Regions from separate parts of the Homo sapiens genome. Here region 1 is linked to region 2. Evidence: promoter capture Hi-C in 16 types of primary human blood cells and fetal thymus (Javierre and others, 2016). All regions are on one chromosome and are shown on one strand. Each heading gives the region's core, a stretch centred on a gene start or on the middle of the fragment in contact. The rest is flanking DNA. Distances are from core to core; before and after follow the strand shown. Region 1 has its middle 18 kb from the start of CD300E. Region 2 holds the start of CD300LF (CD300 molecule like family member f).

Evidence for each region. The method cuts DNA at HindIII sites, captures the fragments that hold promoters and counts their contacts. A CHiCAGO score of 5 or more calls a contact.
Region 1: a contact is called between a fragment that was not itself captured here and the fragment with the promoter of CD300LF in region 2, in 1 of 17 cell types (naive CD8 T cells). The highest score is 5.1, in naive CD8 T cells.

What each region holds. Positions count from the first base shown.
Region 1 is chr17:74,638,787-74,644,935 of GRCh38, forward strand. No RefSeq gene overlaps it. Among named protein-coding and RNA genes, the nearest start is that of CD300E, 18 kb to the left of the region's middle. The HindIII fragment of the contact is 7,428 bases long and covers 1-6,149 here.
Region 2 is chr17:74,710,874-74,717,449 of GRCh38, forward strand. CD300LF (CD300 molecule like family member f) reads right to left here and starts at 2,050. Exons shown (of 7, transcript NM_139018.5): 1 at 1,951-2,050. The coding sequence starts at 1,993. It also overlaps a transcript of RAB37 not described here. The HindIII fragment of the contact is 2,812 bases long and covers 1,916-4,727 here.

The DNA.
Region 1 (6,149 bases), core at 1,707-4,206, 71 kb before region 2:
TCTCAGGTTATAATGATAAACACTGAGATTTTATTTTTTTTTTCTGTATGCGTATACAAGTATTGCCAAGTAACTAACTTTCTCACTGTGAGTCATGGTCAAAAAATACTAAAAGTCACGACATGGGCCGAGTGAGGTGGCTCACGCCTGTAATCCCAGCACTTTGGGAGGCCAAGGCAGTTGGATCACCTGAAGTCAGGAGTTTGAGACCAGCCTGGCCAACATGGTGAAACCCCATCTCTACTAAAAATACAAAATTAGTAGGGCGTGGTAGCACGTGCCTGTAATCCCAGCTACTCGGAAGGCTGAGGCATAAGAGTCCTTAAACCCGGGAGGTGGAGGTTGCAGTGAGCCGAGAACACGCTACCATACTCCAGTCTGGGTGACAGACTGAGACGCCGACTTAAAAAAAAAATTCATGACATCAATTATGTGTGAGCATTTTACTTCAATCCAGAATAAAGAACAAGGGAACTCTCCCACCACCCTCTGTCTCTTGGTGCCCAGAAACTCCATCGAGCACGTTCTGGTCCAGAAAAAAAGAGGGGGCCCTGCAGTGGCCAACCCTATGTCTTGCTCCATTCAGCCTGCTGTAACTGAAATACTACAAAGTGGGCAGCTTAAGCAGTCATTTATTTCTTACAGTTATAGATGCTGGACATCCAAGATCAGGGTGTCAGCCTGGTCAGGCTCTGGCGAAGGCCTCTTCTGGGTTGCAGATGACTGCCTTCTCTTTCCATCTTCACATGGCAGAGAGGGAGGTCTACAAAGCTCTCTGGAGTCTCTTTTATGAGGGCACTCATCCCATTTATGAGGGCTCCAGTTTCAAGACCTAATCGCTTCCCAAACCCCCAATACCATCAGCTTCATGGTCAGGATTTCAACATATGAATCTTTGGTGGGGGAAGAAGGGGGACACAAACTTTCAGTCCATCATCCCTGGAACAGGCAGATAATGCCAGCATTTTCTTCATCAGTGTCATGGACTTGGCGTTATGCAAGAGCAGTGTCGATCAGGAACGGGAAACAAGAAGGTTTTTGTGGTTATGACCGAAACCATCTGCTCACATCAGCCCATTTGTGGCTTTTATTTCTTTTTTTAATACTCAATTTGAGCAGAGAGCAGGCTGAGAAAGGAGTGCTGGCATCAGGAGCTGGCAGCGTTAGAAGCACCTATGCAGAGGGACAAAAGCCCCAAAGTGAGCGACTGCTGGGCTTCGAGCCCCAGTGCCCCCCACCTCACCACGCCCATGACTCCTGCATCTTCCTCCGAGACCCACCCTGCACAGCTGACTCACTTGCCTTCGTCTGTGCAAATAACTTCCCCATGGGTCTCCTTTTTCATTTGCTTCTCTCCCCTTTATTTCAGGCTACTAAGGGATGCAACGTTGACGGTGCTAAGCAGAGCCTAGAATAGGAGAGAGGGCTCTCCAGAAAAGACCTGGAACATTAGAGATGAGCAATGCCACTGTTAGGAGCCCATGGGTCCCGCCCTAAGCCTCCGAGGCCTCTCCTTCACCTTCATATCCACACCAGACAGGGCTGGTGAGCGAATTCTGGAGGATTCAAGGCGAGAGAGAGTCCCCTGTGTTCTTAACTTCGGGGAGCTGAGGTCACAGATACACTTGAGATTGTAACAAAAGCTATACACCCATGCCCTAGGAAAACACACACATACACTGAGTTTCGCATATCCTATTAAAAGAATCTCCAGAGTCTTTCTATGTATTCCTAGCTAGGACCCCCCACCCTGGCAGGGCGCGGTGGCTCACACCTGTAATCCCAGCACTTTGGGAGGCCAAGGCGGGTGGATCACATGAGGCCAAGAGTTGGAGACCAGCCTGGTCAACATGGTGAAACCCTGTCTCTACTAAAAATACAAAAGTTAGCTGGGCATTGGTGGTGGGTACCTGTAATCCCAGCTACTTGGGAGGCTGAGGCAGGAGAATCCCTTGAACCCGAGAGGAGGAAGTTGCAGTGAGCCAAGATCGTGCCATTGCACTCCAGCCTGGGTGACAAGAGCAAAACTCCAACTCAAAAAAAAGAAAAAGAAAAAAGAAACAGATGAGAGAGATATGACTCTGATGCTAGAACAGAGGAGGAGCCTGCAGAAGGTGTGCAAGCACACATGTGCGCACGTGCACACACATACCAGCTGTCAGACACAGTCTGTGCTCTTTGGGAAGGAGGGTGGGGGTTACAGGACACTCCCATGTGACAAAACAGCAATCATCCCATGTCCCCTGGGTGCATAAAAACATCTCTCTTTGCACACCAGCACACAGCCACATCTTCCTTGCTGGGGTTCTTTGTGACCACTGTGAAAAAGCATTTGCCAGGGCTGTCTTGATGGTACACGGCGCTCCTCTCCTGACCTCAGGTGGTCCACCCACCTCAGCCTCCCAAAGCTCTGGGATTACAGGCGTGAGCCACCGCACCTGACCCAGACCCTGCATTCCTTTCCCCACTGGGCTTCTCTAATGTTCAGAACAACTCAAATCCATTTGTGCATTCTGCTGCCGCATATGGAGGCCCTGCTAAGTGTGAGTCCTACTTTGTGTTTGCAGCTGCAGACCTCATGCTGAGCAAGACTTCGCCTGGCCCTGGAGGGGCTCCCCACTACACCCTGGGTTGCCTCTGTGCCCTCTGGACTACCAGGCCTGGCTTAGTCGCTTTCCTTGGGCCTCTGTTTGTTATCAGCAGAGCCCACCCATCTGAGGCTGGAGCCTGAAACTCTAGTCATCCCTCTGATTCCCTCATCCTCTCCCCAGTGCACCCCAGCCCCACCCACCTCCCCTTCCCCAGCCACTAGGCCTGCTGTTCCTCATGCTCCCACCAGCCTCCCCCACCCCACTCCCCGGACCCAGGATGTCCAGGAGGGGCAGATGTGTCACTGTGTCTCTTTGCTCTCTCTGCCTCATCTGCCAACATTTGGGGAGCTTCTGTCAGCTGGACTGAAACTGGCTTTCATGTTTCTTACTACTCCCTTGCGTCTCTCTTTTCTACACCTCAGTTTTGTTGTTTTCCCATTGCATCAATGTTTATACGTAGAGCTGTTCAGAAAAAGCAGAAGCTGGAGACAGGAAAACTACTAATCACAACAGAAACTTTGTGGCTTTAATTCTCATAATAATTAGCATCACAGGGCACCCACCCAGTTTCTCAAGAGCCTACAACTTCCAAAAACAGACAAGTTAAGTCACATTTTTATGTATCATTGTGTCTTCAAATATACTAATCCAGCAGATTTATCTGACATCAAAACAGGGAGTTGGATGTTCAGAGGGCAAATCTTACCCAAAAATTGCTGACACAGCCCCTAACATGTTACATTATTATTAATTGGACAGTCACTTAATGAGCGTCTACTAAGTAAAGGCGCTGTGTATACAAAGAAGAAGGAGAGATCATGATTCTGTCAGGATCCTGGGAGTGGGCCAATGGCAGGCTCAGTTGGTATAACAGAATAATCTAATGCAGGGGAAATTTACAAAGAGAAGGAAAGAGTTAAGTGAAATCAACAAGAGATGGAGAAAAAACAGGACTAGCAACAGCAGTAGGGCCACGACACCTCTAACACAGGGAGAGGTGTCAGAAATAACCAGAACCCACAGGAACTGTAGGACAGGACCATGCCACAGGGGCTGTGACCTCAAAGTAGGAAAACGGACACTCCAGCCCAGCAGGGTGGCACCTGGGCAGGAGAAACTCTCACCTTCCTTTCTCCTGCTGGCACCACCCATTGCCATTCCTTGGAAAGAAAATAAATCTTGGGACCCCAAACTCACTAAGCCAAAGGAAAAAGTCAAGCAGGGAACTGGGTCATGCAAACCTACCTCCCATGTTGGTTCCTAAATGAGATGGTGACAAGGATGACAGGCTACCAACCTCCCTCACATTGTGGTCTTTAAAGCGTTTCTGTTAAATTTCCCCATGCCAATGTAAACTGATAGCTTATCTTCACAGGTGCGAGACACAGGACAGAACTCAAAGTCATTCCTCTGCCCACCTGAGACAAACGCATATCTGACTGTTTCCTCTGCCCTGTTGTTTACGTTATCTTAGGTAAAAATGCAGATTCACTGAGCCAGACAAAGGCCTGAATGGCTATTTTCCCCACCTCCCCTCTCACAAGAAAATTGTGTATTTCTCAATATCCCACCCTTTCCCTTTTAAATATTGAAGCCCCCAAAATCATCTTCAGAGAAAGGTATAGACCTGTCTCCCAGGCGCGTTTCCTTAACTTTGGCAAATAAACTTCCTAAAATGATTGAGACTTGCCTCAGTCATTTTCCTCCATTGACAACCTGAGCCCAACCAGAAGCCAGAGTGAGGTTATCTATGTTCCCCTCTCCAATAAGAATAGAAACCCCCACTCCAGAGCAGGTGCGGTGTCTGACTCATCTTCATATCCCAGCAGTAAGTACAGTGACCAGCTCACCGCGGGTGCTCAGTAAATGCATGCTGTGTGAAGAGATGAATGAGTGAATGTCCGTCCACTCAGCAACCTTGCAGCCAGGTGTGGTTGCTCATGTCTGTAATCCTAACATTTTGGGAGGCCAAGGCGAGTGGATCACTTGAGACCAGGAGTTTGAGACCAACCTGGCCAATATGGTGAAACCCTGTCTCTACTAAAAACCCAAAAATTAGCCAGGTGTGGTGGTGCGTGCCTGTAATCCCAGCTACTCAGGAGGCTTGAACCCAGGAGATGGAGGTTGCAGTGAGCCAAGATTGCGCCACTCTACTCCAACCTGGGTGACAGAGCAAGACTCTGTCTCCAAAAAAAAAGAAAAAGAAAGAAGAAAGAAAGAAAGAAAGAAAGAAAGAAAGAAAGAAAGAAAGAAAGAAGAAAGAAAGAAAGAAAGAAGAAAGAAAGAAAGAAAGATTCTTACAAACTATAAGATACTAAATTATCTAAAATTATTTCAAAATAAAGAAGGAGGTTTTGATGCTATATGCAGGTAAGAAAGGTTGGAATTAATCTCTGGAATAACACACATGATTTTCTCAATTCCTGTACTAAGCACATATGCATGGCTCCAGAAATAAGCAGAAAGTCTTTGCCATTTCAACTGTCCCCCACATACTTACTATGTTAACCCACTTCTCCATCAACACTTCTGCCCCAGGCAACTAGAAGAGAGAGAAGGAAGGTGGTGAAAAGCAGCTTCATGGTTCTGCCTACTGAGCTCTGCTCTCCCCTCTATACAGCCCAGTCCTCCTAGACTCTGGGCTGACCATGCTACAGAGAGCAAGTGCTGCATGCTCTGCCTTCTGCTTTGGTGCCTCCCTATCTCTTCTTATGGTGGTCTCCATTCACACCTGCAATCATTGTTTATTCTACTGCTTTTTTTTTTCTTTTAAGAAAGAAACTGAGATGATAAGCAGCAACTACTTGACAAGCAAGTGTTCAAACACAATGCTATGGCAATCTCCTCAACATGCTTGAAATATATGAAAAGATAGAAAATCTCAGCAAGGAAATAGACACAAAGAAGTAGCAAGTGGACATTTTACAAATGAAAAATATGATAACTAAATTTTTTAAATTCAGCTAATGGGCTCAACATCAGGAGGGAGAGGACAGAGGAAAGAATCGGTGAACTTGAACACAGAACAATAGAAATTGTCTGATCTGAGCAAAAGAGAGAAAATAGACTTTAAAAGATGAACAGAGCCTTAGGTAGCTGTGGGACTGTAATAAAAGAGCAAACATTCATGTCATTGAAGTTCCAGAAGAAGAAAAGAAAGAAAGCAGAGTTGCAAAAAGGTATTTGAAAACATAACGGCTAAAATTTTCCCAGTTTCAGCAAGACATAAAGCTACAGATCCCAAGATAACTATCCTCAAAGTCAGTCAGAGCCTGGGTCTAAAAACCATTTTGAGCAGATTCCTGGAAAACTCAATCTCCAGTCCAAACATTCTTCTAACCTCAGACCTCCTTGCCATCCCTCTCCTTGATATCTGCACTTGAGCCGTCTCAAAGATGCATCCAACTCAACAAGTCCAAAGTAAACTCACAATTATGCCCTCCAGAAAGGAGTCCCATCACCTTACACTGTTTCCTAGTTTTCATCCCTGACCCCTCTGTGTCTTCATCCCCACACTCTGTCCTGCCTGGAGCCCATTCAATGTTGCCTCCTGTTAAA
Region 2 (6,576 bases), core at 800-3,299:
AAAACAAAAAATCTGTTCTTGCCAGGCACGGTGGCTCATGCTTTTAATCCCAGCAACTCAGACGGCCAAGGCAGGAGGATCACTTGAGCCCAGGAGTTGAGGCTGCAGTGAGCTATGATCATGCCACCACACTCCAGCCTAGGCAACAGACTGAGACCCCAACTCAAAAAAAATAAAAAACCTTCCTTTCTCACAGAAAACAAACTTCCGGATGGGTATTTTTTTTCTTGGGTGTTTTAAAACGATAAATTATTTAGAAGAGGGAAACAGGGTAAGCACACTTGCTGCTTGTGGGTGGAAGTTCTGCAGGAGAGGCTGGCAAGAGCTGATGCATGCAGGTTCACAGTGGTATCCGGGCTCCATGTTGGCGCCCATAGCTGTGCCTGCTGGCTTTTCTGCCCACTTCAGACAGAGGTCCCAAACCACTCCCACTCCCAACACGACTCTCACATCTGCTCACTACCAAATTCTCTCATTTCCAGGTGTCAGAAAAAAAGCAGCCATACCTGTCCTGGTCTCACTGTGCCAATGCATTTCATAACATCTCACCCAAAGTCTGCCTTCTCCACTTACATGCTGAAACTCGGGGCCAAGTGTCCATGAGCCACTCCCTGCTCTTCCTGTACCAGCCTAGCAGTCCTGGACAAGTCACTTTCTTCCCCAAGACCTTTTCTCCAATCTGTCCCACCAGGATCTTCTGAAGCATGAGGCAAAGCCGTGCTGACCTCCCTCTTCCTCAGACGTGCCCAGTCCAAGCTCATTCCTACACAAGAGCCCTCGTATCTACTGTTCCCTGTGCCTGGAAAGCTGGTCCCGATCCTGTGTCTGATCCTTTTCCTAGGTCTCGGCTCGGACAGGCATCTGGGACCCTCTTCAGGGGGGTTGTTTCAGCCCACCTGACTTACAGCATCCCCCTACCTGGGTCCCACTGTAACATATCATCTTGTTCTGTTTTCCTCACAGTACTTATCACTTCTCACTTCTTGAAATTATTTTTTTGTTTTCTTTCTTTTTTTTTCTTTTTTCTTTTTTCTTTTTTTTTTTTTTTTGAAACAGAGTCTCGCTCTGTCACCCATGCTGGAAGGCAGTAGTGTGATTACAGGTCACTGCAGCCTCCAACTCCTGGGCTCAAGTGATCCTCATGCCTCAGCCTCCAGCCTCCCAAGTAGCTGGGACCATAGGCACATGCCACCATACCTGGCTAATTTTTGTACTTTTTGTAGAGACAGGGTTTCCACATGTTACCCAAGCTGGTCTCGAATCCCTGAGCTCAAGCAATCAGCCTCCCAAAGTGCTGGGATTACAGGAATGAGCCTCTTTCCCTGGCCTCCCTTCATTTTTAATAAAAATTGTATGCACCAACTTAAGGTGTCTCCTGCCCTCTGGCTCTGCCCACATCTCAGTCCCTCCTTTCCTCTACGTCCCTGCCAGTCTTATCTCCTCTTGACCTTTCCGTCCCTCAGCAACTTCTACTATTTCCTTCTGCCCCAAATGCCTAGAACCACCACTCCCTCTCTGCCCAGCAAACTCCCTCTTCCCTCCTTTCAAAGTCCTCCAGCCTCACCTCTTCCCTGACGCCTGCCCTTGCTCAGAACACCTCCACGCAGGTGACAGATCACCCAGTCCAGGATCAGGCAGTCGCCTGCTCTCCTGAGCAGCCCATGTTCCTCCTCTGCTTTTCCCTGGCCGGCGGGGCCTACAGTCTGTCCATTTCACATGATCAGCCCCTGGGGGTCAGGAATTCTGCCTTGCACTGGCTTCATTATGAAGGTCATGCCCTGTATTCCTGCCTTGGCAACGGAAATGCTAGGTGAATGGTGGGTATGTGGATGAAACGCACAAGGCTCATGCCATTAAGGACACCTTCTGGCCGGGTCCCTTCTTCCCTCTCTCAGCCACCTCCTCCTGCTTGCTAAGCTTCCCCAAGAAGACAGACCCAGGCCCGCTCACCTGAGAGCCAGAAGAGGAGCAGGTAGAGTGTCAGCAGGGGCATCTTCTCTTCAGACAGGTCCCCGTTCCCCTCAGTGGAGCCTGGCAGCAGGAACAAACTACAGACTCCCAGCCTTCTGCTGGTACTCACTCTCGCCCTTGAACTTCCTCCTTCAGTCACTTCCCATGGGTGAAAGAGACTAAAAGAGGAAGGAGGTGGTTGGTTGGGCACCGTGGCTCAGGCCTGTAATCCTGGCACTTTGGGAGGCCAAGGCGGGCGGATCACGAGATCAGGAGTTCAAGATCAGCCTGGCCAACATAGTGAAACCCCGTCTCTACTAGAAATACAAAAATTAGCCAGGCGTGGTGGCGCACACCTGTAGTCCCAGCTACTCAGGAGGCTGAGACAGAAGAATCGCTTGAACCTAGTAGGCGGAGGTTGTAGTGAGCCGAGATCGTGCCACTTGCACTCCAGCCTGGGTGACAGAACAAGACTCTGTCTCAAACAAAAACAAAAAAAAAAAAAAAAAGAGGAAGGAGGTGGAAAGGGTGAAATTTCGAGGCAGTTGACAATGCAAGGGGTCACAGGAATCATCAGCTTCTGAGAAGTACCTCTCTGTACACAGCCACCGTGGGTTCTCTAAAAAGAGAACTTCGTGGCTCCTCTGTCATGTGGAAACCTGCAGACAGATCCACTGGGTCTGGCCAGCCCTTATCCAATCCTCCAAACCTGGTGGGTTGGCTGGGGGCAGGGGCACGCGGCTCCACCAGAGGGGTCCTGGAGAGCCACGGCTGATAGACACGATGTCCTAAACCTGGAGCTTCAGGTGTAGCCAGATGCTTGGGAGCCCAGAAGGCCAGAAGTTCAAGAGGATTGAGGGGCACTTGTGGCCAAAGTCAGAAAGCCAGAGGAGAGATTCCAGACCAAAGGTTGGAAGGCAGCTATGAGGAGATTGGGTATCCAACCCCAGACTACAAGGCCAGGTACGGTGGCTCACACCTGTAATCTCAGCACTTTAGGAGGCTGAGGCAGGAAGATCACTTGAGGCCAGGAGTTCAAGACCAGCCTGGGCAACATGGCAAGGCTTCATCTCCACAAAAAAAAAAAAAAAAAAAAAAAAAAAAAGTCAGGCATGGTGGCTCATGCCTGTAATCCCAACACTTTGGGAGGCCAAGGTAGGCAGATCACTCCAGGTCAGGAGTTAGAGACCGGCCTGGCCAAAATGGTGAAACCCCATCTCTACTAAAAAATACAAAAATTAGCTGGGCGTGGTAGCATTCACCTGTAATCCCAGTGACTCGGGAGGCCGAGGTAGGAGAATCACTTGAACCCAGGCGGCAGAGGTTGCAGTGAACCCAGATCGCACCACTGAACTCCAACCTAGGCAACAGAGCAAGACTCTGTCTCAAAAATAATAACAATAATAATAATAATTAGTTCTGCAGAGTCATGCATGCCTGTAGTCCAAGCAATCTGGGAAGCTAAGGCCTGAGGATTACCTGAGCCCAAGAGGTCGAAACTGCAGTGAGCTATGATTGAGCCACTGTTCACTGTACTCCAGCCTGGGCAACAGAGCAGACGCTGTCTCTTTAAACACACACACACACACACACACACACACACACACACACGCACGCACAGAGAGGTTCAGAGAGAAGGGAGATGCAAGCAGGGAACTACTGGCCCACTGACAAGAGGCGCTTTGTCCTGAGAACACGAAGGAAGCTCCTACTGCTGTACCCCAGCCCACCAGGTGAGATCCCAGGGATACCTACATCTGGAATCTTCCAGAAACCTGTCCATTGTACCAGGGGGTCTACCTGAGGAAACCAGTTCATTGCTCAGGACTATTATCCCCTCGCTCCACCCCTCACCTTATAACTATTTGTTGAAGGAAGGAAGGAAGAAAGGAAGGACCAGTTTTGCCCCTCACTCTCCTCCTTCTGACAATCATGTCCATCCCCCATCTCTCCTTTCCCATCAAGACCCCAGCAAGTCCCTAGGGTCGGGACTGGGGATATAAAAGGATTAGGAAGGGCCAGACTCAGTGGCTCACACTTGTAATCCCAGCATTTTGGGAGGCCAAGGCAGGTGGATCACCTGAGGTCAGGAGTTCGAGATCAGCCTGGCCAACATGGCAAAACCCCGTCTCTACTAAAAATACAAAACTTAGCCGGGTGTGGTGGTGGGTGCTTATAATCCCAGCTACTCAGGAGGCTGAAGCAGGAGAATAACTTGAACACAGGAGGTGGAGATTGCAGTGAGCTGAGATCGCACCATTGCACTACAGCCTGGGCAACAAGAGTGAAACTCCATCTCAAAATAAATAAATAAATAAAAATAAATAAAAGGATTAGACCTTTCTCACCTTCTGCACCTGGAGCCACTTTTGCCATGTGTCACATACACCCTGTGACATCTTGACAAGGGAGTGAGTCTCAAAGAGGGACGCAACCCCCTCACACCCTAATCAGGAATGAGTGGGTGTGCAGAGGGTTATTTGCACAGAAAACCACAGCAGCTGATAAGCCATGGCTTTTCCAGGACGTGGCCAGAGATGGCTTCTCGCTTTACATATCTGCAGACCATAAAGTAGGTCAAGAATCCGGGGTGAGGGCTTGGCCAGCCCTTTGGTCCCTGCTGCATGTCAATAGGTCCTCTGCCCAGGGCACCATGCAGATACTCAGAGAGCAATCAGCCCTCTGCAGTAGGGAAGCCATTGGCTTCCAGGAAAAAGGACCAGGAATGGGGGCTGCCCTGAAAAACAAGGGGCAGATGCATCGAGGGTGGTGGGGTAAGCTTTCTTCTCCTGGGCATGAGCAACAAGGAGGGAACAGCACTGTCTGTTAGAACTGCCTGTGGCCAGACCCTCTGATCGTGGCCTCTCCCAGACCTGGCCTCCCCAAGAAGGATTCCCCTTTGAAACAAGAACAGAGAATTCAGGCCGGGCACGGTGGCTTACACCTGTGATCTCAACTCTTTGGGAGGCTGAGGCAGGCGGATCACCTGAGGTCAGGAGTTCAGGACCAGCCTGGCCAACATGTCGAAACCCCATCTCTACTAAAAAATACAAAAAATTAGCCGGGCATGGTGGTGGATGTCTGTAATTCTAGCTACTAAGGAGGCTGAGGCAAGAGAATTGCTTGAACCCGGGAGGCAGAGGTTGCAGTAAGCCGAGGTCACAACACTGCACTCCTCCAGCCTGGGTAACTGAGCAACACACTGTCTCAAAAAGAAAAAGCAGAGAATTCGCCAAGTGGTTCTGAGTAGCTGCTCCTCTAACCAAGTGCCTATGGGGAATACAGGGGAATCGGCTCTTCTGCAGGCCTTGCGTCCTCAAAAACTCATTTGAACCTGTAATCCTGGTTTGACCATTGACCTATACACAAGCCAGTTATATCCCTGGGCTTCCCTGTCCCCATATGTGAAAGCAGGGATTAGACAGGTCATCTGAGATTCTCCCTGCTCTAACGCACCTATGTATGTATGTATGTGTGTGTGTGCATGTATGTACGTGAATGGTTGAACCTGTCATTCTGCCCTGGCCTTGTGTGCTCTGCTAGGGGACTCTGTCTAGCACCTAAGAACCAGTCTCTGTTTTTATAAATCATAATTCTTCTCAGAAACCATTCCTGAGCCCTTTTAGTTCCCCTCACTTCCAATTGCACTTTATCTTTCCCAACCACTTGTGCTATGTTTCATATTTTCCATCATTATTACATTGAATCCTCACTATAAATCTAGAGGAAAGGTGATGCGTTTCTCATTTTTCAAAGAAATTGAGACGCAGAGAGCAAGTGACGTGTCCAAGGTCACATAGCTAGTAAGTGGCAGAGCCAAGATTCAAACCCAGGCCTGGTTCATATAAGCCATGCTGCCTTGTGTCAGGGTCAGGGAGGGGGCAGAGAAAGAGAGAGAGAGAGAGAGAGAGAAAACAGCCCTTAGATCCTGCTCAGTGCTGACAATGAAGAATTGATAAAGCAGAGAATCCCGGAGCTGGTTGTCACCAGGGCGTCCACTCCAAGGTTGTTTTTTAAACAAATTTCCTGGCCGGGTGCAGTGGCTCACGCCTGTAATCCCAGCCCTTTGGGAGGGCAAGGTAGGCGGATCACCTGAGGTCAGGAGTTCAAGACCAGCCTGACCAACATGGTGAAACCCTGTCTCTACTAAAAATACAAAAAATTAGCTTGGCATGGTGATAGGTACCTGTAGTCCCAGCTGCTCAGGAGGCTGAGGCAGGAGAATCACTTGAACCTGGGAGGCAGAGGTTGCAGTGAGCTGAGATCGCACCATTGCATTCCAGCCTGGGCAACGAGAGCGAAACTCTGTCTCAAAAATAAAATAAAATGAAATAAAACAAATTTCAGAATGAAAGAATGTTTTATCATGCACTGAAAACTGACTTATTAAGCAGGTAACTGATACCACCAGCCTTGAACATTTTCCAGATCTCATGCCCCTCTTCTGCAGTGTATGGAATGGGAATCTGGGCCTTACCCAAGTTCTTGTCCAGGAATTCAGGCACAGGCAAAGCTTATTTCTGAGAAAAATAGGCGTCTCCAAAGAGTGAGTCTGAAAGTTTGTGTCTCTCGAATTTCATACGTTGAAACTTAACCTTCAATGTGATGGCATTACGAGGTTGAGCC